Regions from separate parts of the Homo sapiens genome. Here region 1 is linked to region 2. Evidence: promoter capture Hi-C in 16 types of primary human blood cells and fetal thymus (Javierre and others, 2016). All regions are on one chromosome and are shown on one strand. Each heading gives the region's core, a stretch centred on a gene start or on the middle of the fragment in contact. The rest is flanking DNA. Distances are from core to core; before and after follow the strand shown. Region 1 overlaps LOC124904784 (a long non-coding RNA gene). Region 2 holds the start of ZNF776 (zinc finger protein 776).

Evidence for each region. The method cuts DNA at HindIII sites, captures the fragments that hold promoters and counts their contacts. A CHiCAGO score of 5 or more calls a contact.
Region 1: a fragment that was not itself captured here is called in contact with the fragment with the promoter of ZNF776 in region 2 in 1 of 17 cell types (neutrophils); the score reaches 5.9 in neutrophils.

What each region holds. Positions count from the first base shown.
Region 1 is chr19:58,160,539-58,163,775 of GRCh38, reverse strand. The region is part of intron 1 of LOC124904784 (a long non-coding RNA gene); the gene reads right to left. Among named protein-coding and RNA genes, the nearest start is that of ZNF329, 11 kb to the right of the region's middle. The HindIII fragment of the contact is 9,989 bases long and covers 1-3,237 here.
Region 2 is chr19:57,745,189-57,748,507 of GRCh38, reverse strand. ZNF776 (zinc finger protein 776) reads right to left here and starts at 1,693. Exons shown (of 3, transcript NM_173632.4): 1 at 1,417-1,693. The coding sequence starts at 1,449. RefSeq lists an enhancer at 1,632-1,681. The HindIII fragment of the contact is 9,325 bases long and covers 1-3,319 here.

The DNA.
Region 1 (3,237 bases), core at 494-2,993, 420 kb before region 2:
TCCATTGACTCATCCGGTTCCAAGTCATGACACTTCTTGACTGAACTACACAGTAGTGCTTTCATCATCATCTCCTCTTCTGTTCATGACACCATCCCAACACTCAACCAGTGCAACCGTTCAAACATGGAAATCAGGCCAGGTGTGGTGGCTCACCCTTGTAATACCAGCACTTTGGGAGGCCAAGGCAGGAAGATCACTTGAGTTCAGAAGTTCGAGACCAGCCTGGACAACACAGTGAGACCCCCGTCTCTACAAAAAAAGTTTTTTTTTAATTAGCCGGGTGTGGTGGTGTGCACTTATGATTTCGGCTACTTGGAAGGCTGAGGTGGGGGGATTTCTTGAGCCCAGGATTCCAAGGTTGCAGCAAGCTATGATTGCACCACTGCACACCAGCCTGGGTGACACAGCAAGACCCTGTCTCTTTTATTTATTTATTTATTTTTTTTATTATTTTTATTTATATATACTTTAAGTTTTAGGGTACATGTGCACAACGTGCAGGTTAGTTACATATGTACACATGTGCCACGTTGGTGTGCTGCACCCATTAACTTGTCATTTAACATTAGGTATATCTCCTAATGCTATCCCTCCCCCCTCTCCCGACCCTGTCTCTCTTAAAATGTAAACTAGATCATTTAATTCTCTTGCTTAAATTCAACGAGTGACTTCTCATTGCTCTCAAATATTTATGCTTTTTTGTAGAACATCCACATTCACTATGCTGATTGCTACATAAAGGCAGATTCCAAATCTGTTTGCTAATTTCCTTGGCAACAGTACCTAGCATGGCATCACCGTGACTGTTTCTTGGCCAATTGTTTGAGGTGACTTGTATCCCTCACCATTCGACTGTTATGTTGATGACTTCCAAGTCGAGATCACTAACCCTCAGCTTCTGAATTTCCAAAGCCTGTGACTAAATGCCTGCTGGAGATCTTCCCCCACACATCAGGCAGTGCCCTTCTAATGGTGCAAATTAGATCATGTCACTCCCGAGGTTAACTCCACCCCTTCTGGTTTCCTGTCTCCTTCAGGGTGAAGCCCAAACTCCTAATCAAGGTGCACAAGGCCTGGCACATGTCAGCCAGATTTCCCCTGACTCTTCTGCTCTCTCCCCTTGCCCATCCATTCTGTCTTCACTGCCTGCTATTGTTTTTTTTTTTTCCTTGGGGAACGAGTCTCGCTGTCACCCAGGCTGGAGTGCAATGGCGTGATCTTGGCTCACTGCAACCTCCACCTCCTGGGGTCAAGCAATTCTCGTGCCTCAGCCTCCCAGGTGGCTGGGATTACAGGCACGCGCCACCATGCCCAGCTAATTTTTGTATTTTTAGTAGAGATGGGTTTCACCATACTGGCCAGGCGGGTCTCAAACTCCTGACCTCAAGTGATCCGTCGGCCTCGACCTCCCAAAGTGCTGGGATTACAGGCATGAGCCACTCACTGTGCCTGGCTGGTTTCTTGATTGTACCAAATTCTCTCCACCTCAGAGCCTTTGCTAGTGCTCTCCTTCTACCAAAATGCTCTTCCTCAGTATGTTGGCTCCTTCTTTTACTTGAGAAGTCAGATTAACATTGACCTCCTCAGAGAGGCCTTCTTGGACTGTGTAGTGAGCTCAGTAATGGTTTCCAAAAGATGTCCACATCCTCATCCCTAGAACCTCGTGAATGTTACTTCACATGGCAAAAGAATTTTTACAGATGTGAATAAATTAGGAATCTTGAGATACAGAGATTATCCTGGATTATCTGAGTGGGCCCAGTGTATTCACAAGGATACTTAAATGTGGAAGAGGAAGATAGAAGAGTCAGAATCAGAAAACGAGTTTTGATGATGGAAGCAGAGGTTGGAGTGACTCAGGGCCATAGACCTAGCAATGTAAGTGTCCTTTAGAAGCTGGAAAATGGAAGGCATGTATTCTCCACTCATGCCTCCCAAAGGAAAGCCAACCCATTTTGGATTTCTGACCTCCAGAACTATAAGATAATAACTTTATTTTGTTTTAAGCCACTAAATCTGTGGTAATTTGTTACTGCTAGGAGTCAGCAAACTATAGTTTCCAGGTCTGGTCCCGTCTGTTGCCTTTTTGGGGAGGGGATGGCTTATGAACTAAGAGTAGTTTTTATATTTTTTAAAATTCTTTTTTTTGTTGTTTTGGCTGGTCAAACGAAGCAGTGGGAGTGGAGAAGAACAAAGAAATCTGTAACTGGTTGTGATCAATTAATTGTAGTTTTTACATCTTTTAATAATTGAAAATAAAGGAATAATTATATTTTGTGATGTGAAAATTATATGAAATTCAAATTTCAGTGTCCATGAAGTTTTTTGTTTGTTTGTTTGTTTGTTTGAGACGGAGTCTCACTCTGTCACCCAGGCTGGAGTGCAGTGGCACGATCTCAGCTCACTGCAACCTCCACCTCCTGGGTTCACTCCATTCTCCTGCCTCAGCTTCCCGAGTAGCTGGGACTACAGGCGCCCACCACCACGCCTGGCTAATTTTTTGTATTTTTAGTAGAGACAGGGTTTCACCGTGTTAGCCGGGATGGTCTCAATCTCCTGACCTCGTGATCCGCCCACCTTGGCCTCCCAAAGTGCTAGGATTACAGACGTGAGCCACCGCGCCTGGCCCATAAAGTTTTTTTATTTTTATTTTTGTAGGGATGGGGTGTCACTTTGTTGCTCAGGCTGGTCTTGAACTCCTGGGTTTAAGTGATCCTCCCACCTTGGCCCCCAAAAGTGTTGGGATTACAGGTGTGAGCCACCACACTCAACTGTCCATAGGTTTTACTGAAATACAGCTCTGCCCATGTATTATGTATAGTCAATAGCTGCTGTTGTGCTACAACAAGGTTGACAGTTGCAACAGAGACCATATAGTCCCCCAAACCTAAAATATTTACTGTCTGGTCCTTTACAGAAAAAGTTGTCTTCCCTTGTTGTAAGCTGCTATGTTTTTGTTTTTTGTTTTTGTTTTTGTTTTTGTTTTTGAGACGGAGTCTCGCTCTGTCGCCCAGGCTGGAGTGCAGTGGCGTGATCTCGGCTCACTGCAAGCTCCGCCTCCCGGGTTCACGCCATTCTCCTGCCTCAGCCTCTGAGTAGCTGGGACCACAGGCGCCTGTCACCACGCCCGGCTAATTTTTTGTATTTTTAGTAGAGATGGGGTTTCACTATGTTAGCCAGGATGGTCTCAATCTCCTGACCTCGTGATCTGCCTGCCTCGGCCTCCGAAAGTGC
Region 2 (3,319 bases), core at 444-2,943:
TAGCTACCATATATTAGATGTCTCCAGTGTCAATCCCTTTCCAGATACCCCAACCTGCATGTCCATAGCCATTTGATGCCTACACTTATTCGTCTCTGACTCTTCATATGGCCATAACAGTCATCCTGATATTTGCATAATATTCTAATTATGTTTATTACCAACATGCTCATCTCAGCTGATGCAGCTTCCATAGCTACAGCTACTAAGACCAAAAACCTCGGGATCCTGATTGCTCTCTTCATGCCCTTACTTTGTGTATTAGGAAACCTAGATGCTGTAACAAAATATCAACTTTGAATCCAGCCACATCTCCTTAGCCATGAATCTTAGTCTGTTAACCCTCACTTGGATTACGGCAAAAGCCTCAACTCTCATCTTATTTCCTCCTCTCTCAACCCCACAGTCTGTTCTCCACTGTACAGCCAGAGGAGACTACAGCCAGATGAAACTGTGGCAACATCACCTCCTCCCTCTGGTCAGTTTCACCTCTAAGCATTTCACATCCTGGTACTAACTCCTGGGTTAACCTTCCAAGTATGTTTATACTGGTTGACAGAAATGGGAATACCTCCATATATCCTGTGTCACAGACTTTGGATCCTGGGTTTAAGGTTCCTCCAGGGTTCCCATATCAAAAAACTTAAAAAAAAAAAAAAAAAGGTACCTAAGAATCCCAGGACATCCCAATCTAAAGAGCATGTGGATAGGAGTTAGGGCCAGTGAGGGAATAACACCCTCCGCTTCCCTGCGGAGGTTCTGCAAGTGCTTCTGCAGCCAGGAGTTCCTGAGAGGAGAGGCACAAGCTACAAGAATGTATCCCTGATGAGATTTGATAAGCTCAGGCCTCCCTGAACTCTTTCTTGGCCCTGTAACTAGGTAAACGCGAGTTGGTTGTCTGAACTGAGCGCCTCAGTACAAAATGTCATCTCTTAGCACCTATCTGATCTGTAGAGGTTGAACAAGAATTCAACCTCCCAGGGCCCAAAAGTCATCCCCTGTGTTCTTTTTCGACTGGACTTTGGGAAACCTTTAAAGCCTGGACATTGATCTTTTCCTTCCTTTGTTGGAAGCTGTCCATGGCTTCCAGCGTTCTCAGGGTGAATACACGGTCCTCAGCCTGCTCTTCCAGGAGGAGCTCTGCCTCACACTTTGCTCCCGACAGGTGCCTGTGGACCCTAGGTTACGATCCTCTCGGCTCAGTTCATCTCCAGGCCTTTGCCTGCACCGCTCCCTGTGCCTGTAGCTCTCCTGAGCGCATCCCGCGGGTGTCAAAAACGGGGGCCCATAGAGAGCGCCTCAGTGTCCCGACGCCGGGTTCAGGGTGTAAAACCTTGAGCAGGCGCCGCTTCCTCTCTGCTTTTGGACTTAGGTAAAGATGAGGTGACCTGAGGGCACGGAAGACGCCACAATTACCTGAGCCGGGGGCCTCAGCGCGGCCGCCGCCATCCGACTGGGTGGGGAAAGCGGGGTCGAAAGGAGGGGGCGAGCAGTGCAGGTACCCGGGCACGGTGGTCCCGATCCCGGCCTTGGTGCGGGTCACGCCTAGCGCCTTTAAGGAGCTGCAGAGCAGCCTCTGTGCAGTCGGGACAACGTCTCGTCTCCACCTTCTGGGTTCAGTCACTTCTACACGACCCAACACTCCGCGGTCTCTCACTGGAAAATACACCCAACACCAATCAAAATGGCCACTAGTAGAGGACGCCGGAAGTCCCACCTTTATACTGTTTCCGCGGAAACGCCTTTATTTTGAGCCCTCATTGGCTCTGACGCGCTGTCATTCGACGCAGAGATTTCTGGGTTATGTAGTTTCCTCAGGTTCCAAGACAGTTCCAAGGCGGTAAAGAAGGCCTTCTCAGAGGCGCTTGATTGCACAGAGTGGTGAATAAACACTACTCTGGCCTAAGTGTCATCTTCCCTCAATTTGACTATACTTCTGCATGTATCTATTTCATGTCTATTTTCTCCTTGAAAGTCTATATCCCCTGTCAAACTATGCTGTCAGGTATACCCTACCATCACGTTCACTTACTTGCAGGAAAGGCCCAGCTCCATCTCAGCGGCCTGTCCTTAAAGTGCATGTCCTTCTAGGGTAGAGGATAGTCTCACCTAGCCTTAGAACCCGTATTGAGATTTTTGGAGATTAGTGTCTGTAACTGATCACTCAAGTATTTGAAAAAATATTATTTTAGATTTTGGGGAACTCGAGCTCTCCGATGCTAAACTTATTATTTAGGATGCCCCCAAAGACTAAAAATCCAAATTATCATAACGTTTTGAACAGTCTTTCAGTCGCAAAATCCCGGTACTGGCAGCAGAGGCTGATAAACATTATTGTGTTATAAATTCACATGAATGCACTCTGAGGCATTAGAGTCAGTTTCTCAGTCTGTCAGGGACAAGAGAGAACTAATCCAGATAGGACAAGACAAGGAAGATAGAGGAGAAATGTTGTGTTCCCTAAAGCAGGAATACATGCTGAATCTCTGTCTGTGATTCCCACAGAAGACAACTCTCCTGCCTATAAAATCAATCATAGTGTCCAGTACATTGAGCAACACTTTTATCCACTTAGTATCCCTCGCTTGAGATTCCAACTTATATTCAATTAATTCTGGATTAATTTATCTAAGATTTATCAATCTTACAGGAAGACCAATGAAAGAAATGCTATTTTGGTAGTGATAAATGGCTGCAGTTTTCAAAGGTGGGGCACGTATGCAGAAGATGCTCTCCACCTGTTGATATTGGTTGTGTCTTAAATCCAGGAGTTCATGTTATTGCTGGGAAGTGGCTATTTTTTTTTTTTTGTATTAGATAAAACAGACTTTATTTATTTCTTTTCTTTTTTTTTTTTTGTGACTATTCTTTATTTCTGTTTCCATGGCAAGGAGTGTTTTGCCTAATAAATTAATGTTATGGATGGGATTACAGGCATGAGCCACCATACCTGGCTAATTTTGTATTTTTAGTAGAGACGGGGTTTCTCCATGTTGGTCAGGCTGGTCTCGAACTCTCAACCTCAGGTGATCCACCTGTCTCGGCCTCCCAAAGTGCTGGGATTAAAGGCATGAGCCACTGTACCCAGCCGCTCAGTTCTTAAAAAACCTATGTCTTCTATGTTCAGGGAGAAGAGGCATTTAGAGCAAGAGCTTACTCATTCTCCATTTCTGCTCAGAAATAAAACTTGCTTGCCTTTTTTTTTTTTTTTCCCAAATTGGGTGTTCTTTTTTTTGTGACCAATACAAAGTAGGGAAAGAACTCAGTTTATTGGTAGTACAACTTAAAAAAAAAAAAGCATGTTTAACATTCCAACTTT